Regions from separate parts of the Homo sapiens genome. Here region 2 is linked to region 1. Evidence: promoter capture Hi-C in 16 types of primary human blood cells and fetal thymus (Javierre and others, 2016). All regions are on one chromosome and are shown on one strand. The core of a region is centred on a gene start or on the middle of the fragment in contact, and the rest is flanking DNA. Distances in the headings are between cores, read along the strand shown. Region 1 overlaps TFRC (transferrin receptor). Region 2 holds the start of CEP19 (centrosomal protein 19).

Region 1 (6,401 bases), core at 424-2,923:
CACTGTCGCTCTCAGCCCCGGGGACTTCGGGTCCTCGCCCTTGAAGGCCGCAGGCCCTAGTGCGCCGGCTCCGGGCTGCGGGTCCGGGAGCGCGGGCGCAGCCAAGGTGCAGCTGCGCGGCGTGCGGCGCCGGGGGAACACGTGGCTGCTCCAGGAAGTCGCCCCAGGGAACGGCTGGGATTCGTGGGTGACCTTGGGCTCCTAAACCTTCGGTTCCCCGGGCTCCGGGCGGGCCCCGTTCTCACTGCGGAAAGGGACAAAGCTGTCCCCGATTCGGTTACTAGCGTGTTACAGGCATTAATTAGATACGGGTTTCTGTAAACTTACCCTTCGGCTCTGGTACAACCTGATCTTGCCATGCTCTGCCTGTTCGCCTTGTGTGTGGATTCTGTTTTCTCAAGGCAGAATCCGACTGAACGCCGCAGGTGTTCACATTAAGAATATTGCTAGCAGTTCTCACTACAAGACGGGAGCCATAGGAGTGACTTATTTGTGAAAGATACTTGGAGATTAGCGGTGTGGTCAGAGGGCTGTGCTGGATTGATGGGCGCCGGAGAGGCCGATTGTGTCACATTCTGCTGGACAGTTCTTTTAAGGTTGGGAGGGTGGGTAAGAAAATACATTCTGATTCGGCTCTTTTCGGATAACGCTTTCCCTCTGCTTACTGCTTGTAGAGACCTCACTTACCCGGGGGACTGGATTCTGCAGCTTTTTCCATTTTCTTCCCCGTTGATAAGAGGATTAAAGTAGGAAATTGTATTTGGCTACCCCATGCTTATATGCTAAGCTTACTGTGAAAATTAAGGTTAGGCTGTCTAGAGTACTTGTGGACCCTGCTGGTTCCCCCCGCCCCCCGGCCCTGAATTTTGGGTTACAATATGCTTCTCAAGAAAACTCAGAGTTAAGATAATTTTTGTCATCGATTTTGCAAGGTTATATATAGCATAGCATCCTTCAATTTCCTTTGGATGTTCTTATCAAGTAATGGTGGCTGTAAACCTAGCCTGTGTTGAAGATTGTTAGATAGACAGCAGTTTGGCTAACTCCGCCCTAAGGCGAGGCAGTTACTTGCCTCTGATAATGTATTTAAATGTCATGGAGCAAGATTCCCAGCTAAACCTGAATCGATCACAATGCTAGTTAAAAATGACCCTCGGCTGGGCGCATTGGCTCCCGCCTGTAATCCCAGCACTTTGGGAGGCCAAGGCAGGCGGATCACCTAAGGTCAGGAGTTCGAGTCCAGTCTGACTAACATGGTGAAATCCTGTCTCTACTAAAAACACAAAAATTAGCCGGGCATGGTGGCTCACGTCTGTAATTCCAGCACTTTGGGAGGCCGAGGCAGGTGGATCACTTGTGGTGAGGAGTTCGAGACTAGCCTGGCCAACATGGTGAAACCCCGTCTCTACGAAAAATACAAAAATTAGCTGGGCATGGTGGTGCACACCTGTAATCCCAGCCACTCAGGAGGCTGAGGCTCGAGAGTCGCTTTAACCTGGGAGGCAGAGGTTGTAGTGAGCTGAGATCGTGCTACTGCACTCCAGCCTGCGCGACAGCGAGATGCCATCTCAAAAACAACAACAAAAAAACTCCCTACTAAACCAGAAGAGTGATGGGGACGGGAAAAGATTCCTGGTCCAATGTTTTCATTATATTTTTCATATCATTTGGAATCTCATGCATCAGGCATGCCCCAGTACTGTTAAAGACAATATTTTTACTCATTATCAGGTAGTTCAATACCAGTTATTACAGGATAGGGAAGTCAGTCAGAGAAGGCTTCATAGAGATGAAGCCTTGAGCTGAGCCTGGAAGAAATGAGGAGGACCTCAAGGAACAGAGAAGAATGTTGGTGGGTAAAAACAGGGGCTGGATTCTGTCTGATTTTGGAGAAAATAGAGGGTAGTGAAGTTGTTAGGCAGTGAATGTGTTCCATTTCATGGTTCAAAACGTGGGGCTACGTTTTGCCTACCTGAGCTTCATTATTAATGTGAGAAATTGAATTGTTGTTTTCAGTCACCATTGAGAACACCAAAGATAACACAAGTAGCTTAGATTATTATTTATTTATTTATTTTTGACAGAGTTTCACGCTTGTTGCCCAGGCTGTAGTGCAATGGTGTGATCTCGGCTCCCTGCAACCTCCACCTCCCCCAGGTTCAAGTGATTCTCCTGCCTCAGCCTCCCCAGTAGCTGGGATTACAGGCATGCGCCACCATGCCCGGCTAATTTTGTATTTTTTTGGTAGAGATGGGATTTCTCCATGTTTGGTCAGGCTAGTCTCAAACTCTCAACCTCAGGTGATCTGCTCGCCTCGGCCTCCCAAAGTGTTGCTGGGATTACAGGCGTGAGCCACCATGCCCGGCCATCGCTTTGTGTTCTTAAAATTAATTTAAAACAAGAAAACTTGAGGAATGATGGTTCAGATGAGTGTTAAAACTTGCAAGATGTTTTTTCCTAGAAAAGGATGATTAAAATTGGTTCAGGGTGGGGCCTTCCAGTTCTGGCTCTAATGATTGGGTCCTTACTGTTCTGGTGGAGTGGTAGTGATAAGCTTTTTGTAACAGAAGGGGCAAAAGATTGTGCTTCTGGCTGGGCGCAGTGGCTCACGCCTTCGATTTCCTTGGGATGTTCTTATCAAGTAACTAATCTTAGCACTTTGGGAGGCCAGGTGGGTGGATCACCCTAGGTCAGAAGTTCCAGACCAGCCTGGCCAACGTGGTAAAATCCCGTCTCTACTAAAAATACAAAAATTAGCTGGGCATGGTGGTGGGCACCTGTAATCCCAGCTACTCGGAGTCTGAGGTGGGAAAATGGCTTGAACCCGGGAGGGGGAGGTTGCAGTGAGCCGAGATCCTGCCATTGCACTCCAGCCTAGGCAACAAGACCGAAACTCTGTCTCAAGAAAAAAAAAAAGATTATGCTTCTAAGAATATGGTCTATTGCATATGGACACTGGTTTTTAAAGCTTGAATTTAAAAAGAATTTTTTGTAATAGGTTTTAGAGCTTTTTCTTTTTCTTTTTTATTATTTTTTTGAGATGGAGTTTCACTCCGTCACCCAGGCTGGAGTGCAGTGGTGCCATCTCGGCTCACTGCAACCTCCACCTCCCGGGTTCAAGCGATTCTCCTGCCTCAGCCTCCCCAGTAGCTGGGATTACAGGTGCCCACCACCACGCCCATCTAATTTTTGTATTTTTAGTAGAGATGGGGTTTCACCACCTTGGCCAGGCTGGTCTCAAACTCCTGACCTCGTGATCCACCTGCCTCGGCCTCCCAAAGTGTTGGGATTACAGGCATGAGCCACCGTGCCTGGCCAGAAAGCTTTTTCTTAATGCCAGTTATAATACCCTTTGCTTTACAATTTGCGTATACCTCACAGCTTGCTTTGTGCCGTGTGTGTTTAATATGCCCTAAGTGTACTCGTATATAGGAAAAGCTTTAAAATGGTATCCAATAAATGTCCATTTTGCAAATCTCAGGATAATGTCATTTTCAAGTATCTAGATGCCCTCAAACCAAATTAACTGGAAAATTCAGATTTCAGTTAAGGCCTTTAACTTAACTTAGGACTTTGATTACAGAGATGTATTTTGCTTTGACAAAAGTTAAGGTTAATGTCTTAAATTTCCAGAGATGATAACACAATTTCTATAACCCAGTAACCCATTTAACTTCGCTTAGATTATCAATTTTCAGCCTTGAACAGGCCACTTAGTTTCTCTAATAACTGGCCTCTTCATCTGTAAAACAGCGTAATCTGTGTTTCATGTTTCTTCTTGTGTCAAAGATCGAATCACTTGTAGGAACTATTCATTCAGTCAGGATCAGTATTTCTTCCCCTTCCCATTGGAGATGGTTTGTGGTATTTGTAGCATAACTGGTCTTGTCTGCCTTAGTCTTAATTTTGTCTTTTTGTATGTGTCACTTTCTTTTTTTTTTGAGACAGAGTTTTGCTCTTGTTTTCCAGGCTGGAGTGCAGTGGCGCGATCTTGGCTCACTGCAAGCTCCACCTCCTGGGTTCACGCCATTCTCCTGCCTCAGGCTCCCGAGTGGCTGGGATTACAGGCGCCCACCACCACGTCCGGCTAATTTTTGTATTTTTAGTAGAGACAGGGTTTCTCCATGTTGGCCAGGCTGGTCTTGAACTCCTGACCTCAGGTGATCCACCCATCTCAGCCTCCCAAAGTGCTAGGATTACAGGTGTGAGCCACCCCGCCCAGCAGTATGTGTCACTTTTGTCTACTCAGAACATAGTGGTTCGTACTTATAATTGCAGCACTTTGGGAGGCCAAGGTGGGAGGATTGTTTGAGGCCAGGAGTTCAAGACCAGCCTGGGCAACATAGGGTGACCTTGTCTCTACAAAAAGAAAAAAAAAGAATTATGTATATAACAAACTTTAAAAAGGATCCCACTTAATTTAGTTGTCATGTAAACTATGGTTAAATACCTTTTCTAGAAAAGTGATAATGTATTTTAAAAATTTAATGTATCATTTAGCCTGGTAATAGAAAGCTCACTAATCTGATACAGTAGTATCTTTCTCAATAATTCTCTATTCTGATACCTAGGTTCTTCTGTGTGGCAGTTCAGAATGATGGATCAAGCTAGATCAGCATTCTCTAACTTGGTAAGATATTTTCAGTTGTATTTCTGTGTCTGCAAGAATGTGAAATATACAAGCATGACTTTAACTGAGTAAGCATGAAATAATAACCCCAATCTATTATCAGGTATTCATTTACATTTGAATTGGTAGTCTTGAGGCATAACTGATCTCACAAAGAGTTCAGCCTTCAGTAGGGTTAATTATGGAAAGTCTTGGAAGAATTCTCAGAGTGGTTCTGGGTGTGGTAGACGGGGACAGCTTAGTAGATAAGACGAATTAAAGCCCTGATCAAAATGTTTTAGTAGGAGAAGTAAAAAGCAAAGGCTTGCGGGGCGCTGTGGCTCACGCCTGTAATCCCAGCACTTTGGGAGGCTGAGGTGGGTGGATCACCTGTGGTCAGGAGTTCAAGACCAGCCTGACCAACATGGTGAAACTCGGTCTCTACTAAAAATACAAAAAAAAAAAAAATTAGCTGAGTGTCATGGCGCATGCCTGTAGTCCCAGCTACTTGGGAGGCTGAGGCAGGAGAATTGCTTGAACCCGGGAGGCGGAGGTTGCAATGAGCTGAGATCACGCCATTGCACTCCAGCCTGGGCAACAGAGTGAGACTCCGTCTCAAAAAAAAAAAAAAAAGCAAAGGCTGAATGAGGCCAAGTGTGGTGGCTCACTCCCGCAATCCCAGCAGTTTGGGAGGTGAGGCAGGAGGATCACTTGAGGAGTTTGAGACTTGCCTGGGCAACATAGCAAGCCCATCTCTATTAAAAAAAAAATGAAATTTTAAGAAACATTGAGTAGACAGTATGAGTGAAAGCTGAAAGAACATACAAAAAAAACAGCCATCCAGGCCATGACGAGAAGGAGCCTAACTCTTAACACTCTGTCTAGACCTCAATTCTCTCTTATTTGTATTTATTTATTTATTTATTTTTATTTTATTTTTTGAGATGGAGTCTCAGCCTGGGCTCTGTTGCCCAGGTTGGAATGCAGTGTGCAATCTTAGCTCACTGTAACCTCCGCCTCCTGAGTTCAAGCGATTCTCCTGCCTCAGCCTCCTGGGTGGCTGAGATTACAGGCGTGCGACACCATGCCCAGCTAGTGGTTTTTTTTTTTTTGAATTTTTAGTGAGAGGGGATTTCACCATGTTGGTCAGGCTTGTCTCAAACTTCTGACCATAAATGATCTGTGTGCCTCGGCCCCCCCCAGAGTGCTGGGATTACAGGCATGAGCCACTGTGTCTGGTCTATTCTCTCTTTTCTGTCTTCTATCTTATGCTTAGTCAGAATTTCTGCTTATTTATAACTTTGTTTTATTCTTGCTCCCTTGCTCCCACCAACATCATGGTCTGGGTTACTGCATAGTATCCTGAACTGATTTGTGCCCCTAGTCCCAGCTACTCAGGAGGCTGAGGTGGGGGAATCAGTAGAGCCCAGGATTTTGAGGCTGCAGTGAGCTGTGATCACACCACTGTACTCCATCCTGGGAGAGAGAGGGAGACCTTGTCTCAAAAAAAAAAAAAAATTTACAAAAAGGGAGAGACTGACTGAGAAGACCAGTGTGAACTAGCCCTTGACTGGGCCCAGGGAAGAATGTTGGTTTGAAAGGAGAACACCCTAAGGAATATATAGCAAGTTATAGTAATGGCCCAATAACAAGCATATACCTAAACGAGCTTTTCCTAAACATTCCCGTGCCTGTTCTTCATCATGCCTTTTTCCGCAACACAGTTTGGTGGAGAACCATTGTCATATACCCGGTTCAGCCTGGCTCGGCAAGTAGATGGCGATAACAGTCA
Region 2 (6,401 bases), core at 1,461-3,960, 630 kb before region 1:
GGACTACAGGCACGCGCCACTACGCCCGGCTAATTCTTGTATTTTTAGTAGAGATGGAGTTTCACCACGTTGGCCAGGCTGGTCTCGATCTCCTGACCTGGTGATCTGCCCACCCTGGCCTTCCAAAATGCTGGGATTACAGGCATGGGCCACAGCGCCCAGCCGAGCAAGGCTCTGCCTCTTAAAAAAAAGAACAAATAGCCTGGGTGCAGTGACTCATGCCTGTAATCCCAGCACTTTGGGAGGGGGAGGCAGGCAGATCACAAGGTCAACAGTTTAAGACCAACCTGGCCAACATGGTGAAACCCCGTCTTTACTAAAATACAAAAAATTAGCCGGGCGTCGTGGTGTGCACCTGTAGTTCCCGCTACTTGGGAGGCTGAGGCAGGAGAATCGCTTGAACCTGGGAGGTGAAGGTTGCAATAAGCCGAGATTGCGCCACTGCACTAGCCTGGCAAGAGAGCAAGACTCCGTCTCAAAAAAAAAAAAAAAAAAAGAGACAGGGCCTTACTCTGTCACACAAGCTGGAATGCAGTGGCATGATCACAGCTCACTGCAGCCTTGAACTTCTGAGCTCAAGCAATCCTCCCACATCGGCCTCCCAAGTAGCTAGGATTATAGGCCCACGCCACCACACCTGGCTACTTTTAAATTTTTTTGCAGAGACAGGGTCTTGCTATGTTTTCCAGGCTGGTCTTGAACTCTTGGCCTCAAGCAATCCTTCCACCTCAGCCTCCCAATGTGTTAGAATTTCAGGTGTGAGCCACTGTGCCCAGCACAAATCCAGATCTTTCTTCATCCTGTTTAATTTTAATGGGGGTAGGGTGGGAAGTGAGGACTGCTATCCAACTATAAATTAAATTAGAAGAAAAATTATGAACAGGCTTAAATTCTACTGGTATGTACACCAGACAGCAGTTGATCATTGGGACCGGAGAAAGGCTAATTTACAAATAGTACAGCAAATACTAGAATGTCATGATTTTAAAGGCAAAAGTACCATTTTTAAAACGAATTTGTTGAATGTGAATTTACCTTCAACATTTTTCCTCTTAACTATTACTTTGGTAGTGGTGAACTGGCTCTGGAAATTGACTTCTTTTTCCTTTTTTTTTTTTTTTTTGAGACAGAGTCTCCCTCTGTCACCCAGGCTGGAGTGCAATGGCGCGATCTCGGCTCACTGCAACCTCCGCCTCCCTAGTTCAAGCGATTCTCCTGCCTTAGCCCCCTGAGTAGCTGGGACTACAGGGGCACGCCATCACGCCCCGCTAATTTTGACCCCTTTTCAATTATAAAATGCTAACGTTGGAAGCCTCTACAGATTACCAAATCCAACTGTTTAAAAATTCTTCTGGCCGAGCATGGTAGTTCACACCTGTAATCCTGGCACTTTGGGAGGCTGAGGAGGGTGGACCACCTGAGGTCAGGAGTTCAAGACCAGCTTGACCAATACGGCGAAACCCCGTCTCTACTAAAAATACAAAAAATTAGCTGGGCATGGTGGCGGGCACCTGTAATAATCCCAGCTACTTGGGAGGCTGAAGCAGAAGAATTGCTTGAACTTGGGAAAGGCGGAGGTTGCAGTGAGCCGAGATCGCGCCATTGCACTCCAGCCTGGCAACAGAGTGAGACTCCATCTCAAAAAAAAAATCTTCTTGGCCTCATAATCCTTTGTTTAGATAAACTTGAAAACCCAATATGTAAACACACAAGCAGAACTGCACTGATTGACAGATACTAAACGGATCTAAATGATACCAAGGATGACAGAAACATCCTCATTTTACAGATGGAGAAACTTGTAGGGTTTGTGCTTTCCTCCCATCAAACCTTACCCTTTATTGTAATTATTCCCGCACTTGCCCGTCTCAGTAGTACAAGCAGTTTGCCAACTACTACTTGCACGAACAACTAGCAGTTTGCCACGGAGTCCTACATTCAGTTTGGGGATTCTCAGGCCTCACAGGGCGCTAAGGCCTTGCCTGGCCCCTTGGTGATCAGAAGCTTCGTGCAGCTCAAGAGCATCCCAAGACGCTTGACGGCTGACTTTCCTTCTCAGAACTTTAGTAACAGGGCGGCCAGTCCAGCCTGGGAACCGCAGGGCCCGAGCCCGACTCTCCCGGAGACCCGGGATCCGCCGCAGAGCAAAGCGCACGGGAGGGAAGGAGGGCACACGGCTCTAGTGTCTGACCTCCTCCGGCTCGCCCTACTGATCTAGGTCCCGCGCCGGGTCCCCACATCCCCGCAACCCGCCGAGAGGCCCGGGAGCCGGGACCGCTCCCACGCTCTGGCCCCCCAAGCCCCGCCCCCCTTACCGGCGTCAGAGCGCGCGGCGGTGAAGGCCGCGGCGGGCCCGCGCGTGAGCCCGGTCGCCGCCCCGAGGAGCAGCCAGGCGGCCGCCCGAACCGCCGCCACCCGAGCCGCCAGGACGCCGGAAGCCGGACGCCCGAGAGGGGCGCGCGGGGCCAGGTGCGGACGCAGGAAGGGGCCTGGCCGCCCGCAGCTCCTACCGCGCGCTGCCCCAGATTTATCGGCTGGGACCGAGTGCTGGGTGCGCGCGCCTAGCGCCCGCGGTTCCCAGCTGCCTGCAGCCCCGGCCCCCAAGGGTTCCCGCGCGGCGTGGGGCGGTCGTCCCCGCCCAGCTGTTCCTTGCTCCGCCCACCCGGGGGCGGGCGAGGAGCTGCGCACGCGCGGGGACGCGCGCCCGGCCTGTCGCTGTGGAAACCGCTAGGCCAGCGCTCGCCGGGACCTGGAATCCCTGTACGCCGAGGTGGGAGCCGGTGGACCGGTCCCCCAGCCGGCCCCCACCTCCGCTTCCCGGTGTTTGAGGGTTCGGGCCTCCCGCCGGGGAGTTCACCCCTCGGGCTCGTCAGTAGGGCTGTGGCTGTCGCCTCTTCCTGCAGCGCCAGGCTCCGCCCGGTCTCACAGTCGGCTTAGGGGCTTTGCGTGCACTGCGGTTGGGTGGAAAAACCCACTCCTGGTTGTTTAGACGTTGGCCTGCAGACGATGTCATTTCTGTATTCCTCTAAGGGTAAGAAAGCCAGCCTTGCACTAGTGGAGACGTGAGTAGGGAGAGAATCGTCTACTCTTTGGGGACATTCGTACCCTTAGGTGCTGTGGGGCTTCCTAACAAGATTGTGGGCAGTTACTGATCTCTGGGGAGAGGAGTATTCGTGTCCAGGAAGAATAATTGGATAAACGTGCCGTCCTTCTTCCTAAACAGAGTGGAATCTGTAAGCAGGCCAAGAGAGCATCCAGGCGGCTTGGAGTGGAATAGAGGGCTCTAGAGCGGGTGTCTCAAAGAGGAAACAGAGTGTATGTCAAAACATACTATCCAAAACTGAAAATAGCCGGGCAGGTGGCTCACGCCTATAGCCCCAGCACTTTGGGCGAATCACCTGAGGTCAGGAGTTCGAGACCAGCCTGGCCAAGATGGCGAAACCCCGTCTCTACTGAAAATACAAAGATTAGCTGGGCATGGTGGTAGGCACCTGTAATTCCAGCTACTCGGGAGGCTGAGGCACGAGAATCGCTTGAACCCAGGAGGCGGAGGTTGCAGCGAGGGGAGATCACGCCACTGCACTGCAGCCTAGGCGACAGAGGGAGACTCTGTTTCAAAAGAAAAAAAAAAACTGAAAATGGTAGTATAAGCATGTTTCTTAAGAAATGGAGAGAGAAATTTTGGAAGATATGCCTTTTAAAATTCAGTCTGGCTCCCTATGAAGAGGAGTAGGGCCAAGGACGATAGTTTGTTGTTATAAGCCTCATAGAATTATTTTATATTCCAAATACAAACATTACTTTAGCAAAAATTAAAGTTAAATTTTAAAAAGAGTCTAGTAAAAAAAAAACTACATTATTTGAGTACCAACTGCATACATCTTTGACGAGTACAGCCATTGCTTCAGTGTGTGGAGTTTATATGTGCCCCGTAGGTTGTAGTTTACTAACATCAAATTTTAGTTAGGTGAATTGGGAATAGTATTCGTTAAAAAAAAAAAAAAAGCAAGAAAAGAGAAGGAAAAGAAGGAGAAATGGTGTGAGCTCATTGCATCAGATTAGAGGTAGAGCACAGTAATTTTTTAAAGTAGTTTTTTTTTTTTTTTTTTTTTTTTTTAAGAATAGGCGTATCATGCTTTGGAGAGGCTGTTGTGCAGTGGCACCATCTCAACTCACTGCAGCCCCAAACTCCTGGGTTCAGGCGATTCTCCCACCTTGGCCTTTGGTGTGGCTGGGACTACAGGTGCATGCTGCCATGCCTGGCCAATTTTTAAATTTTTTGTAGAGACATGCATGGTCTCGCTGTGTTGCCCAGGCTGGTCTCAAACTCCTGGCCTCAAGGTATCTCCTCTCCTTGGCCTCCCAAAGTGTTGGGATTACAGGCCTGAGCCACCACACCTGCCTCCATCTTTTTGAGATGGAGTCTTGCTCTTGTCACCCATGCTGGAGTGCAGTGGTACCATCTCAGCTCACTGCAACCTCCGCCTCCCAGGTTCAAGTGATTCTCCTGCCTTGGCCTCTCGAGTAGCTGGGATTACAGGCACCTGCCACTATGTCCAGCTAATTTTTGTATTTTTAGTACAGACGTGGTTTTCACCATGTTGGCCAGGCTGGTCTCGAACTCCTGACCTCAAATGATCTGCCCACCTTGACCTCCCAAAGTGCTGGCTGGGGTGAGCCACTGTGCCTGGGCTTATATGTGATTAATTTTCTAAGAGTAAAAATTCTCATGCCCAACAATAAGTGGTGAATAATATGATTATAGTACATCCATAAAATAAAACATTTAGCAGTCATATAAAATGTTACATTGTAGTAAAACATTTGATGACAAAATAATAATATATGTTGTTAAATTTGAACGTCAGGAAATAGCTTGTATGATAAGGTATGTATGAAACATACTATAAACTATATGCCTAGAAAAAAGACTGGACACAATCAAGGGTGATTATTTTCTATAGGTTTCCCCTCTCCTTTGCCCCCAGTATTCTACAATGACGTGTATAATCACTGCTAAGTATTTAATAAAAAGTATGTTCCTAATAGTGATTCTCCAGCAGAACTGAGTTCACGAAGATATCATCACCCTATGCCACTTTACCTCAATGTTTCTTGACATTTACAAATCTTTCTGGGAATGTCACAGTCACATCAAAAGCAGTGCTTAGGGTTAAGTGTATTCTTTGGGCACTGAGGGTGGGGAAAGGAAGAGAGAATAGTAAGTATTCATCTACAAATAGCTGTTTCTTGTAGCTAGAAAATTATCATATAGTGAGACACACAGGCCAAAATAAAAGCCCTGCAGACATTACTGACTATTGTATATGAAGAAGCTGAGATATGTGATGTATATGATGTAGCTGCAGACGTTACTGACGTGTATATGAAGAAGCTGATTCTGCAGCAGGTCTGCTTTTTGATCAGGCTTCTAGACTGTAAATGCTTTCAAAAATGTACAGGGACCATCATGTTAATTCATAGCATTAAACAATGTATGGAATGCCCACTACGTTCCAGGTATTATGCTGAGATATTGTGGTGGAAAATGAATATGCCCCCCACCCTCATGGAGCATATTGACTAGAAGGGAAGATAGATGATTAAATAAATAATGACAAAAAACTCTAGTAAAATAATTGGGAAAGTACAAAGGAGACAGTTCTGGATTGGTGAACCTCTCAGGACAAAATGATTAAGGTTAAAAAACTTACCTTATCATAGTACCTTGATACCGAGGATGCTCGATATGCCCTTTCTTAATTGATAAATAGTAAAGACCCTATAGGTCAGCTATTGGGCTGACTTAGGGGTTCATATTCGATCTTCAGTAAGAGTGCAGTACACTAAGAGGTTCAAACTGGATTGCATCCCCAGATTCACATATGAACAAGTCTATATCCTTGAAAAAACCAGATCTTAGGGATCCAACAGGTTGAAACTAACCCAGGGCCAAGCTGAACTTTCAGGGCAGTTCTCAAAATAACTGAGCTTTGTGGTCGTTCCCGCGCACATACCCCACAATTGGAATGATACAGAGAGGATCAGCATGGCCCCTGCGCAAGGATGACACACAAATTCATGAAGCAGTCCGTATTTTAATTTTAAAAAAAATGAGTTTCACAGGCTGAGCGTGTGTGGCCAGAGCCGGACTAGAACCAGATCTTCTGGGGCAAAGGGGCGAGGGGAATGAATGACATTTATCCAACACCTAGTTGTTTTTTCCCTTTAGCAGGAAGTCATTATGCAACTTACACATATTCATCAGATTTCCTCTGACTTACCCGGACATGTACATGGGAATGATGTGCACTGCCAAGAAATGTGGGATTAGGTTTCAGCCTCCAGCTATTATCTTAATCTATGAGAGTGAAATCAAGGGGAAAATTCGCCAGCGCATT

Evidence for each region. The method cuts DNA at HindIII sites, captures the fragments that hold promoters and counts their contacts. A CHiCAGO score of 5 or more calls a contact.
Region 2: a contact is called between the fragment with the promoter of CEP19 here and a fragment that was not itself captured in region 1, in 1 of 17 cell types (fetal thymus). The highest score is 5.2, in fetal thymus.

What each region holds. Positions count from the first base shown.
Region 1 is chr3:196,075,293-196,081,693 of GRCh38, reverse strand. TFRC (transferrin receptor) reads left to right here. Exons shown (of 19, transcript NM_001128148.3): 2 at 4,572-4,630; 3 at 6,334-6,401. The coding sequence starts at 4,595. Among named protein-coding and RNA genes, the nearest start is that of TFRC, 3.6 kb to the left of the region's middle. RefSeq lists an enhancer at 853-1,352. The HindIII fragment of the contact is 1,767 bases long and covers 790-2,556 here.
Region 2 is chr3:196,708,559-196,714,959 of GRCh38, reverse strand. It overlaps CEP19 (centrosomal protein 19), which reads left to right and starts at 2,710. Exons shown (of 3, transcript NM_032898.5): 1 at 2,710-3,031; 2 at 6,233-6,401. The coding sequence starts at 6,303. It overlaps PIGX (phosphatidylinositol glycan anchor biosynthesis class X), which reads right to left and starts at 2,583. Exons shown (of 6, transcript NM_017861.4): 1 at 2,316-2,583. The coding sequence starts at 2,427. It also overlaps the pseudogene RNU6-646P. RefSeq lists silencers at 2,184-2,813, 2,648-2,960. The HindIII fragment of the contact is 5,927 bases long and covers 2,007-6,401 here.